Linked DNA regions of Homo sapiens: region 1 is linked to region 2. The links are contacts of gene promoters, found by promoter capture Hi-C in human tissues and cell types (Jung and others, 2019). All regions are on one chromosome and are shown on one strand. Each heading gives the region's core, a stretch centred on a gene start or on the middle of the fragment in contact. The rest is flanking DNA. Distances are from core to core; before and after follow the strand shown. Region 1 overlaps FAM234A (family with sequence similarity 234 member A). Region 2 holds the start of CAPN15 (calpain 15).

Region 1 (7,641 bases), core at 1,406-3,905, 280 kb after region 2:
TAATCCCAGCACTTTCGGAGGCCGAGGCAGGCAGATCACGAAGTCAGGAGTTCGAGACCAGCCTGAACAACATGGTGAAACCCCACCTCTGCTAAAATAAAAAAATTAGATGAGTATGGTGGCATGCGCCTATAATCCCAACTACTCAGGAGGCTGAGGCAGGAGAATCACTTGAGCCTGGGAGGCAGAGGTTGCAGTGAGCCAAGATCGTGCCACTGCACTCCAGCCTGGGCAACAGAGCAAGACCCCCATCTCAAAAAAAGAAAAAAACAAAAACAAAACAAAACAAAACAAAACACCAATCGATCGAAAAAAAAAAAACACCAGCTGGCTGGGCATGGTGGCTCACGCCTGTAATACCAGCACTTTAGGAGGCCAAAGCGGGCGGATCACAAGGTCAGGAGATTGAGACCATCCTGGCTAACACGGTGAAACCCCATCTCTACTAAAAATACAAAAAATTAGCCGGGTGTGGTGGCGGGCACCTTTAGTCCCAGCTACTCGGGAGGCTGAGGCAGGAGAATGGCGTGAACCCGGGAGGCAGAGCTTGCAGTGAGCCAAGATCGCACCACTGCACTCCAGCCTGGGCGACAGAGCAAGACTATCTCAAAAAAAAAAAAAAAAAAAAAAGCCACCACCTACTCAGGAGGCTGAGGCAGGAGAACTGCTTGAACCCAGGAGGCAGAGGTTGCGGTGAGCCGAGACTGCACCACTGTGCTCCAGCCTGGGTGAGAGTGAGACCTCGTCACAAAAAAAAAAAAAAATCCACCAATCAAGATAAACTCCAAATGAATTAAAAATGTAAACATTATTATTATTATTATTATTTTTTTGAGACAGAATCTTGCTCTGTCACCTAGGCGGGAGTACAATGGCGTGATCTTGGCTCACTGCAACCTCTGCCTCCTGGGTTCAAGCGATTCTCCTGCCTCAGCCTCCTGAGTGGCTGGGACTATAGGCACCCACCACCACACCCACCACCGCACCCAGCTAATTTTTGTATTTTTAGTAGAGACGGTTTCACCATGATGATCAGGCTGGTCTAGAACTGCTGACCTCGTGATCTGCCCACCTAAGCCTCTCAAAGTGCTGGGATTACAGGCGTGAGCCACTGCGCCTGGCCAAAAATGTAAACATTATTTTTAACAAACATTAAACTAAAAGAAAATAGAAGAGAATGTTTATGTATTGTTAGGGAAAGTCTTGAACGCATGACCCCAAAGGTGGAAATCATTAAGAAAAACACTGATGAACTAAATATATTATGAAATGTCTAACCCAAGCTTGTCCAACCCTCGGCCCAGGATGGCTTGAAGTGTGGCCTAACATAAATTCAGAAACTTTCTTAAAACATTCACAGATTTTTTTGCAATTTTTTTTTTTCAGCTCATCAGCTATCATTAGTGTTAGTGTACTTTATGTGTGGCCCAAGACAATTCTTCCAACGTGGCCCAGGGAAGCCAAAAGATTGTTGTTAGCTCCACAAAACAAACCAGGATAAATATTCTTAGGGTTTTCACAAACCCACAAAAGAAAGGCAAGGACCCCAGTGGGGAAACAGGAAACGAATTCATAACTGGGCAGTTCACTGAAGAGCACACGCCAGTGGCCGGTGCCCAGGGGAAACACACTCAGTCTCACTCATAGACACAGCAGGACCAATGACATTAACAAAAGTTAAGCATTTCATTTTATCTGATCTTGAGACAGGGTCTCACTCTGTGGCCCAGGCTGGAGGGCAGTGGTGATCTAGGCTCACTGCAACCTCCTCCTGCTGGGTTCGAGAGATTCTCCCACCTCAGCCTATAAAGTAGCTGGGACCACAGGTGTGCATCACCGCGCCGGGCAAATTTTTGTATTTTTTGTAGAGACAGAGTTTCGCCACGTTGCCCAGGCTGGTCTCAAACTCCAGGGCCCAAGTGATCTGCCTGCCTCAGCCTCCCAAAGTGTGGGCCACGCCCAGCCTAAAAGTTAAGCATTTTAAAATGTGTTGGTGAGAATATACGATAACAGGTCTGCAGTACAATAGTCGTGGGAATTTGAAATGGTAGTTATTGGTCGAGCGCGATGGCTCATGCCTGTAATCCCAGCACGTTGGGAGGCTGAGGCGGGCAGATCACCTGAGGTCGGGAGTTTGAGACCAGCCTGACCAACATGGAGAAACCCCATCTCTACTAAAAATACAAAAAAAAATTAGCCGGGCGTGGTGGTGCATGCCTGTAATCCCAGCTACTCGGGAGGCTGAGGCAGGAGAATCACTTGAACCTGGGAGGCAGAGGGTGCAGTGGCCAAGATCGTGCCATTCCACTCCAGCCTGGGCAACAAAAGCAAAATTCCGTCTCAAAAAAAAAAAAAAAAAAAAAAAGAGGTTACCATTCAGGGAAGCAGACTTCAGGGTCCAGCCCTGTGCTATTTTTACAACATTTTGTGAATCTATAAGTAGTCCAAAATAAAAAGTATAAAATAGAAAATCAAAAGAGAAAAGAAAACCGTTAGTAAGGGGGAGTGGGGTCAGAGGTTCATGTAAGTTTTAGAGGAAGAACCAGCTTCTCCACAGGCAGCTTGGTTTGTGCCTCAAAGCTACCTTAATATGAAGCTATTTTGTTCCAAAGGCAGGAGTCCTTTTAGTGTTTTGTTTATTTTTGGAAGAATATCAATAGTGGAGTTTTGTGGTAGCCTGAAGAAATACTGAAAGAAGAGCCAAACCCCTGGCATGTTACAATTCTCCATTACAAAATAATCACCAGCTTCCTCAAAACCATCCATTAAAATCATTTTCCGACCGGGCGCGGTGGCTCACGCCTGTAATCCCAGCACTTTGGGAGGCCAAGGCGGGTGGATCACAAGGTCAGGAGATCGAGACCATCCTAGCTAACACGGTGAAACCCCATCTCTACTAAAGATAGAAAAAATTAGCCGGGCGTGGTGGCGGGTGCCTGTAGTCCCAGCTACTCAGGAGGCTGAGGCAGGAGAATGGTGTGAACCTGGGAGGCGGAGGTTGCAGTGAGCCGAGATGGCACCACTGCACTCCAGCCTGGGTGACAGAGCAAGACTCCGACTCAAAAAAAAAAAAAATCATTTTCCTTTCCACTGTGGGGAAAAAACGGATATGCACAGCATTTATAACAATACTCCCCAAATACTTACCTGAGCAAATGCCAGAGTTTAAAAGGGGTCGTCTCCAAAGTCAGACAATGTGGTGACAATGAAAATGCCCCAAGGGGTGGGAACTCTTACTGCTATACAGCCTCTGCACATGCTTTCACACCGGCCTGGCCACAGAAAAGGGGTGTGTGTTTAACACGAATAAGGCCTGTCTTTGGAAAATTAAAAAGCTGGTCAGGAATTCCTTCACAGGATCTCCAGGTAAGACTTCCTTTTTGGAAACTTGACTGAGCCACCAGAAATAGGGGTAGTTATTAAAAGCCACAACGGCAAGGCAGCCAAAGCCAGGCAGTTCATGATTCAACCAGTTTGCAAATAAAGACACCATGAGACAGGTCCAAAGATTTGCTCATCAACAGCAAGAAGATACCAATGTTTTTCTCTACTGCGGTCATTAAAAATACCAGGAGCCGTAGCCAGAGCTTCAGGAACCTGACTGGCAGAGAAAATCCCCATGGACCCAGGTCAGAGAGACTTGAGCAGGGCACTGTCCTTGCTCTACTTTAGCATCCATACCATTGACCACAGAGAGTCAGGCCATGTGGCTATTTAAAAAAACAGAAAACAGAACTCAACAAGCTAATAACCAAAAATTTAACTTCATGGCCGGGCAGGGTGGTTCACGCCTATAATCCTAGTGCTTTGGGAGGCTGAGGCAGGAGGATGACTTGAGGCCAGGTGTTCGAGACCAGTCTGGGCAACATGGGGAGACCCCATCTCTACAAAAAGTAAAATAAAATTAGGTGTAGTGGCATGTGCTTGTAGTCCCAGCTACCTGGGAGGCTGAGGTGGGAGGTTAGCTTGAGCCCAAGAGGTTGAGGCTGCAGTGAGCTGTGATCATTATCACTACATTCCAGTTTGGGCAACAGAGTGAGACCTTGTTTCAAAAAAAAAAAAAAAAGTGAGGGCTCAGAAAGAAAAGAAAATTTGTCAATACAATACGTATTAATTAAGGTAAAAGACCTGACACGGGATGGGCGTGGTAGCTCACGCCTGTAATCCCAGCACTTTGGGAGGCTGAGGTGGGTGGATCGCAAGGTCAGGAGTTCGAGACCAATTTGGCCAACATGGTGAAACTCCATCTCTACTAAAAATACAAAAAATTAACCAGGCGTGGTGATGTGCATCAGTAATCCCAGCTACTCAGGAGGCTGAGGCAGGAGAATCGCTTGAACCCGGGGGGCAGAGGTTGCAGTGAGCTGAGATAGCGCCATTGCACTCCAGCCTGGACGACAGAGCGAGACTCTGTCTCAGAAAAAAAAAAAAAAAAGGAGCTGACACCAAGAATAACTTGAAGAAAGAAAGATAAACACAATACCTCATATATGGTTATTCAAACGGATTATTCCCCTGGCCTACAGAACTATCAGTAAGCCCGCGGTGACTCGTGCCTATAAACCCAGCATTTTGGGAGGCCGAGGTGGACAGATCACTGGAGGACAGGAGTTCAAGACCAGGCTGGCCAACATGGTGAAACCCCGACTCTACTAAAAATACAAAATTAGGTGGGTATGTTGGTGTCTGCCTATAGTCTCAGCTACTGGGAAGGCTGAAGCACGAGAATCACTTCAGCCTGGGAGGTAGGGGATGTGGTGAGCCAAGATCGTACTACTGCACTCCAGCCCGGGTGATAGACCAAGACTCTGTCTCAAAAAAAAGGACTATCGGTAAACCAGCTGTCCACTCTAGGCCACTGAGGCTGCCACACCTATCTGTCCTCCAGGGAGTCCACAGGCTACCCAGTCCTGAGTGGAAACTCTGATTAGGGGGAAGAACAAAACAATCCAGCAGTAGTTTGCACAGCTCATTAACATTTCGGCAGGGGTGGGGCAGGAATACCACAGTCCATGCAGAAAGGAAGTGACAGGTCTCTCCCTTTTCTCCAAGAGTTCTTTCTCTAAGAAGTTTACTGAGTCACAGAGAACAGAAAATAAAAACAAAAGTCTCATTCTAATTGCCTTTTTTTTTTTTTTTTTTGAGACGTTGTCTCGCTCTGTCGCCCAGGCTGGAGTGCAGTGGTGCAATCTTGGCTCACTGCAACCTCCGCCTCCTGGTTTCAAGCCTCAGCCTCCCCAGTAGCTGGGACTACAGGTGCCCGCCACCAAGCCCGGCTAATTTTTTGTATTTTTAGTAGAGATGGGGTTTCACTGTGTTAGCCAGGATGGTCTCGATCTGCTGACCTCGTGATCCGCCCGCCTCGGCCTCCCAAAGTGCTGGGATTACAGGCCTGAGCCACCGCGCCCGGCCTCTAATTTTTTTAATTGCAGAAATTTGATGAAAACTTTTTTTTTTTTGACACAGGGTCTTGCTCTGTTGCCCAGGCTGGAATGAAGTGGTGCAATCATGGCTCACTGCAGCCTTGAATCCCCGGGCTCAAGAGATCCTCCCGCCTCAGGCTCCCCAGTAGCTGGGAGCACAGGCATGCACCAGCTAATTTTTGTTCAGCTAATCTTTAAATTTTTTGTAGAAATGAGAGCCTCACTATGTTGCCCAGGCTCCTCTGTAACTCCTGGGTTCATGTGATCCTCCCACCTCTGCCTCCCGAAGTGCTAGAATGACAGGTGTGAACCACCGTGCCCAGCCTGAAGCAGACAGCTTTTTTTTTTTCTTTCTTTTTGTGTAGACCTCCTCTGCGGTCAAGATAAGTGTTTTAAGGCTAGGCACAGTAGCATACATTTGTAATCCCAGCAACTTCGGGAGGCTACAGCAGGAGGCAGGAAGATCACTCGAGCGCAGGAGTTCGAGACCAGCCTGGGCAACATGACAAAACCCTACCTCCACAAAAAAATACAAAAACTAGCCGGGTATGGTGGTATGTGCCTCTAGTCCCAGCTGTGCGAGAGACTGAGGTTCCCTTGAGCCTGGGAGGTGAGCGGAGATCACACCACTGCATTCCAGTCTAGGCAACAGGGCAAGACCCTGTCTCAAAAAAAAGAGAAGAAAACAGTGTTTTAAATGGATAAAATATTTAGTTAATATTTAGAGGAAAACTATGATTATAGATTAATGTTACTATCTAGTTTCACCAGTTAGAAACAGAAACTGAAAAGATTTTGTCAATGGATTAAAAATAATAAGCCCAGCTGGGTGTGGTAGCTCACAACTGTAATCTCAGCACTTTAGGAGGCCTAGGCGGCTGGATCACTTGAGGTCAGGAGTGCGAGACCAACCTGGCCAACATTGTGAAACCCCATCTCTACTAAAAGTACAAAAATTAGCCGGCGTGGTGGCACGCGCCTGTAGTCCCAGCTACTAGGGAGGCTGAGGCAGGAGTATCGCTTTAACCAAGGAGGCAGAGGTTGCAGTGAGCTGAGATCGCACCATTGTACTCCAGCCTTGGCAACAAGAGCAAGACTCTGTCTCAAAAAAAAAAAAAAAAATACACCCAGATGCAGCGGCTCAAGCCTTAAATAAGTTTGGGGTGACCCCCACTGACCCTGGTTAACCACACTCCACCCCAGAGAACTCAGTATTTTTCTTTCAAAGCACTCATCATACTTCTCTTACCTGGCAGAAAGAAAGCTATTTAAGGCCAGGAAGATGTCTGCTGTGTCCCCTGAGCCAAATGGATGAAAGAGAACTTAAAAGACAAGTAAGATAACTCACAATCAAGATCTGAATTTTCCGACAGACTTCATCATCCATAATCACTAACCAATCTTGTAGCGAGTGTGCCCAAATGCTTGTCCCCAAATCCAGCTGCTATACACACAAATGACTTAAGAAATGTATTTACACAATGTGGCTGTGTCACCACCAAGAACACGCTGGGCATTTGACAGCAATTCAACATGAGCTTCAGAGACACCCACAACAGCCAATGAGGCAGATGTTTCAGCTGAGCAAAGCAGATGTCAGACAAGGACAGCTACTGTGTCCAGTTGTTTACAGCAAGCAGCTATTTCTCTCTCCACCAAGAATAATCTCAAGACAAAGAACAGGCCCATAACCATTTTTCCAGAACCACTTTAAAGATCATGGTTCCATGACAAAGGCAAAAGTATCACAGCACATGCAGTCAGCACTCAAAAGCCCAAACACAAGTTCCTTTCCTTTGCAGAACTGAAAAACTTTTACAGTACTTGAGAAGGGCTCACAATGCCTCCTAAAAATAAGTTGAGGGCGAACAGCTGATAGGCAACTATTACACAGAATAAGTTTTGTAGTCTGTCCAGAAAATACCATGGAGTAAGCCTTTCTCCTGAATTCCAAGGCAGATTTCCTGCAACTCCCCCACAAATTAGTGTTAATTTTTTTTTTTTTTTTTTGAGACGGGGCCTAGCTGTGTCACCCAGGCTGGAGTGCAGTGGCGCAATCTCCACTCATTGCAAGCTCCGCCTCCTGGGTTCATGCCATTCTCCTGCCTCAGCCTCCCGAGTAGCTGGGACTACAGGTGCCCGCCACCACGTCCGACTAGTTTTTTTTGTATTTTTAGTAGAGACGGAGTTTCACCACGTTAGCCAGGATGGACTCGAT
Region 2 (6,802 bases), core at 3,759-6,258:
CACCAGGCCCGGCTAATTTTTTTGTATTTTTAGCAGAGATGGAGTTTCACCGTGTTAGCCAGGATGGTCTCAATCTCCTGACCTCAGGTGATCCACCCGCCTTGACCTCCCAAAGTGCTGGGATTACAGGCGTGAGCCACAGCGGCTGGCTTTTTTTTTTTTTTTGAGACAGGGTATCACTCTGTCACCTAGGCTGGAGTGCAGTGGTGCCATCTCGACTCACTGCAACCTCTGCCTCCCGGGTTCAAGCAATTCTAGTGTCTCAGCCTCCCAAACATCTGGGATTACAGGCACACACCACCACGCCCAGCTAATTTTTGTATTTTTAGTAGAGATGGGGGTTTCGTCACGTTGGCCATGCTGGTCTCTACCTCCTGACCTCATGTGATTCACCCACCTTGGCCTTCCAAAGTGCTAGGATTACACGCATGAGCCACTGAGCCCAACCGAATTCTACTTTTTTTTCTTTTTTTTTTTTTTGAGACGGAGTATAGCTCTGTCGCCTAGGCTGGAGTGCAGTGGTGCCATCCCGGCTAACTGCAACCTCCGCCTCCCAGGTTCAAGCAATTCTACAGTCTCAGCCTCCTGAGTATCTGGGATTACAGGCACACACCACCACACCCAGCTAATTTTTTTATTTTTAGTAGAGATGGGGTTTCGCCATTTTGGTCAGGCTGGTCTCGAACTCCTGACCTCAGGCAACCCACCTGCCTCGGCCTCTGAAAGGGCTGGGATTACAGGTGTCAGCCACCGCACCCAGCCCCGACTTCTATTTTTAACAGGAAAAAAGGACCAGACAAGCACTCGTGGTTTTTGGCACTTCTCTACTTCTCTGCTTGCCATGTGGTGGCAGAAGCAGCCCTGGTCTGGGCAGCCCGGTGACCTCACTGGTGGCCAAGCAGAAGCCTCTGGGACACAGGGGGCACCTGTCACCCCAGAGAAGGGGACGGGGGCCTTGGGAGCCGTGTGGCCCTGGGCACCTGTCATCCCAGAGAAGGAGACGGAGGCCTTGGGAGCCGTGTGGCCCTGGGGGCACCTGTCACCCCAGAGAGGGAGACGGAGGCCTTGGGAGCCGTGTGGCCCTGGGGGCACCTGTCACCCCAGAGAAGGAGACGGGGGCCTTGGGAGCCGTGTGGCCCTAACCCAGAGGAGGCCTCGTGGCACCTCTTTCCCCATCAGCTCCAGCCTCTCTGCAGCCACCTTTTCAGGAGGGGCAGGAACTCCAGAAAGCTCCAAAACTTATTGCCTTTCTCATTACAGGGGACAGGGAGGTGGGGGGTAGGGAGTGGGGATCAGGCAGGGGCAGAAGGTGTAAGAGGTTCAACCTGCCTGGGGGACTTCACTTACAAAGGGCAGAGGCTGGGTGTGGTGGCGCCCACCTGTAGTCCCAGTATTTGGGAGGCTGAGGCAGGAAGATCACTTGAGCCCAGGAGTTTGAGGCTGCAGCGAGCTATGATTGCAACTGCACTCCAGCGTGGGCAACAGAGCACGACCCTGGCTCAAAAAAATAAAACTTAAAAAATGTTAAAATAAAGGGCAACTTTTTGAAGAGAAGTGAGGGGAAGGCCATGAGGAGGAACTCCCTCATTAGCGGAGCAAGCTCCTTCCACAGAGGAGCAGACGCTGCAGTCACTGTGACATTTAAAAAGCAGCGATGGCCCTGCGTCCTCCTGACATCCCGTCTAGGACCGCCAGGGAGGCGGGGATGGCAACCCTTGAAGCTTCCCTTTGACCTCAGGGAATCTGACAAATCGTTGTATCTGGAGGCCAGGATGGCGAGGCTGATGCCCATGACCCGACGGGACTCATGGGTCCACCCTGGTGCCCTGGATGAGTTCTGGGGAGGGCGGCCACACTGCTGGCTTCCCATGCAGCACTCAGGCAGGCCCCTCAGAGTGTGCAAAGCAACAGCCTGACGCAGCTCATCTTGGGGGGCCCACGGGGTCCCTGCCCTGGGCTAGGATGCCCCCATCCTCCCACAGACCCCATTCCGTGCACCCTGTGGGCCCAGCAGCAGCCCCTGTCCTAGTGGTACAATGTGGCTGTCCACAGACTCCACGCCCAGACACCTCCCTGGGCCACGCACCGGGAGGTCTCCACCCAGCTGTGTGTGACCCACATAGTGACAGGGTGTGGCTGAACGGGTCTAGGTCCAGCCCCAACCCACAGCCTCCCTGCAGCGAGACACACATGCAAAGATCACAGGCCAGCAAGCCTGTTCTCTCAGACTCAGAAACAGGCCGAGCTCAGGTGTGGCCGTGTCCACGCCACAGGGGCTGCTGTGCTACTTTCCTGGAGCACGCAGGAGTCCCCCTGGGCTGCCAGAACCCAGGTATTCAGAACTGCCTGTGGTGAGGGCCAACCCCAGGTGCTCACTGACCGCCTGCTCTGCGCACGGCTGCATAGCGCTAGACACTAGGCCTACCAAGAAACAGAAACGGACCCTGCCCTCGGCGCCACATCCAGCAGGGAGACAGGGCGGTCCCAAGTGTAAGTGCTGCAGGCAGATCCCACAGTGGGGAGCCAGGGACCAGCTACAGGGTCACATGAGAACCGCACAGACCTCAGCGTTCTCTCCAGCGTGGGGCATGAGAGGCCAGTGGCTCCACACAGCTGAGGCACAGCCTGGTGGTGAGAAAACCCACATCCACACCGAGTGGGTACGAGGGATGCGGAAGGGCTTTAGGCAGAGAACAAGTCCCACTGGGCTTCTGGGCACTCCTGCTGTGCCAGGGGTCAGAGGGCAGGACCAGAGGGACAGAGCAGGAAAACAGGAGAGCAAAGCGCACGAGGCAGCCCCCGGGTTGGGGGCCTCCTTCTTCTGTGTCTTATGAGGAAACCACCCAAGCCCACCCTCCGTGTCTCCTGTCATTTCAGCCTCACGGTCCAGGGCCGAGTGGCCACCCAGGACAGACACAGACCTGACAAGTCACCAGCCTTCCTGGGTTTCTGTCACTGTTTTTCAAAGACCCCAAGCTGTTTTGTTTAATGATGTCGTCCTCCTTCTCAGCACCTGTCCACGCCTGTTGCCATGAGTAGAGGCATCACACCGCGGGCCAGAGGGCTGGACCAGGGGCAACTCGGCCACCAACGGCCGAGTTCTTCACTGAGCGGCTCAGGCCCATGAACAACACCTGTGGTTCCGGAGGATTTTCCGGGCAGCAGAATCCTTCCCTCCAATTGCCTCGTGTGAACTGGTGGAACCAGCAGGAGGGAGAGACCAGGCGCTCAGCCTCCCTCGGCCCCTCCCCTGCCATGAACAGCTGTCTCCAGCTTCGGTTCCTCACCTGTGGCACTGGGGTTACCGGAGTGCTGCCCAAGGCCAGGGCAAGAAGCAAGTGAGGGGTGCCCGGAGAGAGAGCCAGCAGGGCTTGAGGCTGTCACACAGATGCAGCATTACAGGGGACCAGCCACTTCCTGCTCTCAGAGACCACGGTCTGTGGAGGCCCAGACAAGAGGCCCTGCGCAGTTATGCAGTTACTGAGCCTCGGGCTCTCCTGGGGACTCAGAGGTCACTGGCTCCTCTGCCAATCAAGGAGCTCTGGAGAGCCTCAGACACAGACAGAAGCAGGAAAAAGAGGGGTGCTCCTCCCGCAAGCAGAAGGACCTCGGAGGAGGCAAGGCACACCCAACCCAAGGCCAGGCCAAGCTGGTTTCCTGCAGGACCTGCCTCCCCCAGACAGGCCAGAAAAACAATTTCTCTTGCCCCACTTCACAGTTGAGAAGTCACTCAGAACCGGAAGGGAGAATCACCCCTATATCCTTGCCCAGCCCCAGACTCTGGAAACGCGGAGGCAATTACGGGGCACTCCCACACTGAACTGTGACTCACGTTTCCGCACCCCTCAGACCTGGGCAGAGGAAGAGATCCGGGTTTCCCGAAGGAGAAGCACACAACTCTTCAGCACCCAACGGAGTCCCAGTCTTCCCCACTGGCCCCACACACCCAGGCCTGGCCTCAGGTTCTGGGCCTCACCATTGCTTTCCGGGTCTTGTTACCTGCAGTCCGGTAACAAACTCCAGAGCAGTAAGGGGGCCCCGAGAGCTCGCCCGGCCAGGGCCAGCTGACCACACAAGAGTTCCCCCGGTCAGGACTAGAGGGGCCCCTTCTGCAGCCAGCGGGAGGACAGCAGATTTGCAACTTCCCAGCTGGTGCCGCAGCAGCCCCAGAGGAACACGGAAGAGAACACTGGCATGGCTGGCACAGACGGGGCTCCCGCCAGCCCCTCCACGCCAGGTGGCCGCCCCCAGGCCGTTCCCCAAGTGAGGGGAGTGATGCCCGCACCAAGCACAACATCCCTAAGGCGGCCAGGACCGCACGATGGGCCCGGATATAAGGGCACTCAAGGGCAGGCAGGGCCGAGGCCGCCTCCGGTGTGCGCGGCCCCCGGGGCTGGCCTCAAGTGACCCACATGGCCCAGGTCCCTGCCGACTTCCCGCCTTCCTCTGGGTTCCTCTGCGAAGCATCGCCCAGCCCTGGCCCCCACCAGCCTGGAGGCGCCAGCGGGCGGCGGGCTGACCCCACTCCGGGGGCCCTGCCGTCCCTGCCCTGGCTCGGAGCCCGGCGCGCCCGGCCCCCGAGGCCTCCTGCGCCCCGCCGAGCCCGCGCTCCCCGCCGCCCTCCGGGCCCGCGCTCCCCGCCCGGGGTCCCCGGCTGGGCGCCCGGCCGGGCCCGGCCGACGGGACTCACCTCCACAGCCCGGCGGCGCCGCCTCGTCCTCGCGGCCCGGGCAGCGCGGCCCCGGCCCCCGGGCCCGCTCGCCCCCGCCGGCCGATCCACAACTTCTGCCTCCGGAGAGCGGCGGGGCCCCTCTCGCCGCCGGCCGCGCTGCCCGGACGGCCTCCCGCTCCTCAGCCGCGGGGCGCCCCGACCCGGCTCCGGCCCCGGCCCCTGCCCGCGTCCGGCGCCCGCCTTACGCTGCCTTCGTAGCGTAGCGCCCGGCCCGGGCCCCGCGGCTACGGCGCGCCCGGGGCGCACGCGGCGCTGTGAATCGCGCGCCCGGACTACGGCTCCCACAGGGCTGCGCGGCGCCGACGGGGCGGAAGCTCGGGGCGGTGCCTGCGCGAGGCAGGCCGGGAGTTGTAGTCCTCGGGTGGCGCCCTCCCAGTCCGCCGACCGCCCGGGCCACTTCTCCTGCCCTCGCTGCTGGAGACGGCCGGGCCCGAGGCCTCGGTCCCCGGGAGGCGCCGCGCTCCAGGATTATCAGGGAGTGGGGCGGCCCGAGGAGGAGCTGGAACTACAACTCCCAGAGGGCCTTGCGAGGGGCACGGAGGGGCGGGGCCTGCAGCCGCGGCGTCTGCGCATCAGCGGCGTCACAGACGCGTGGGGCTCGCGGGGAGCCGGGCTGGGGCCGTCCGTGTCCCGCGGGGCTCTGGGCGGCCGCTCGACCGAGGACCCACGACTCCGCCCCGACCCCGCCGTGTTCGCGAGACCCGGAGACCCCTTCGCGCCTTCCAGGACCGCCCCTTTCGCGACGCTGCGTGCTGTGCTTGGTCCTGGCGGCCAAGAGCGGCGGTGGCAAGGGGACCGCCCTGGCCCGAGACGCGGCCTGGCCTCGCAGCGTCGCTTGGGCACAGCCTCTCTAGGCCCCTTCGTCCTCGGTCGCGGAGGGACGCCATTAAACGGCCACGCCGGGCTCAACTGGGACGCGGCCCACGGCGCCCAACCAGGGCCTGGGGGAGGGAAGCCGGGGCGACTCCTGGGTCCTTCCAGGACCCTTGCGCAGGCCTCATTCTCTCCCCGGAGGTCCCCTTCCCGCTGCCCTGAGGCCACTCTCCTGCCAGCAGCTGCTGGGCCGGCTCTCGGGAGAATGCCTTGGCGTCAAGCTTATCAGGCTGCAGGGCGGGACGCGAGTGCTGAGGGCAGCCAGACTCCCGCTCTTAGGTGCACTTGAGGAGCCTGAGAAGGCAGTGGCTCTGCGGGAGAGGGAGACACAGGAGCAGGGCTGGTCCGCCGAGATTCCGGAGAGACGGTTGTGGGCCGATTCTGTGGCGAGATTTACAAGTGGGAGGTTGGGTGACGATTGCTCCTGGGCCAGAAAATCTAAGCCAGTCTCAGCAAGACCTACAAGGCCAGGGCCAGTGCTCCTCAGAGGATATTCATGCTCCAGGAAAGCCAAGGATGGGCCTCCGTCATGCTGAGATGCCGCAGCAGGGACACCTGTGTCCCACGTGGAGCTCGGCTTCTAGCTGCAGTCAGTGCAGAAGCTGGCAGGAGGGGTTTATTTCTGTCCTCGGAAGCTTTTGGTAAGGACACTTCATTCCTGTGTCTTGGACACCTCCCCCTAGGTCTGCTGCCCCCTCTGTGGAGACAGGCAGGGCAGCTGGATGTGCCGTTTGTTCCCAGACTATATCCATGCCAAAGCATCCCAAGGGCAGGAAATGTGTCCCCGGGGGCCAGTGGGGGTCTGGGGGCACAGAGGGCTGCAGAGTGAGAGCTGGCTCTCCTCTCTGCAACTTGGACAAGGCTCTGGGACCCTGTCCTCCCCAGCTTCCTCACCTGCATGGCAGGATACTGGCCAAGTGTGGCTTTCGAACCACAGGAGAGGGTGCAGTCAAGGCCTCACTCAGGGACCGCAGGTTCTCTTCCCTTCCCAGTCCTTCCCTGGCACTGCCTAGGTGGCTCCCTGGCCAGGGGCCAGTGGTCTAGCCAGCAGGCCTTATAACCTCCCCACCAGAGAGGCAGCTGCAGTTGAACCTGTTGATCTGATGCTGAGGGCCCTGCCAGCTCACTGCAGAGTGGCCAGTTCTGGCCAGTTTTGCTAGGCCAGGCCCATTTGGGGTGAGGAGAGGGTGGGAGCAC

Evidence for each region. Contacts are between HindIII fragments. The study calls those that stand out against the background at their distance.
Region 1: a contact is called between a fragment that was not itself captured here and the fragment with the promoter of CAPN15 in region 2, in 2 of the 25 tissues and cell types used here (lymphoblastoid cells and pancreas).

The regions. Positions count from the first base shown.
Region 1 is chr16:239,407-247,047 of GRCh38, reverse strand. The region is part of intron 1 of FAM234A (family with sequence similarity 234 member A); the gene reads right to left. Among named protein-coding and RNA genes, the nearest start is that of FAM234A, 8.4 kb to the right of the region's middle. The HindIII fragment of the contact is 7,678 bases long and covers 1-6,494 here.
Region 2 is chr16:525,918-532,719 of GRCh38, reverse strand. CAPN15 (calpain 15) reads right to left here and starts at 5,008. Exons shown (of 14, transcript NM_005632.3): 1 at 4,691-5,008. It overlaps LINC00235 (long intergenic non-protein coding RNA 235), which reads left to right and starts at 5,313. Exons shown (of 1, transcript NR_024121.1): 1 at 5,313-5,873. RefSeq lists an enhancer at 5,888-6,449. The HindIII fragment of the contact is 8,144 bases long and covers 1-6,033 here.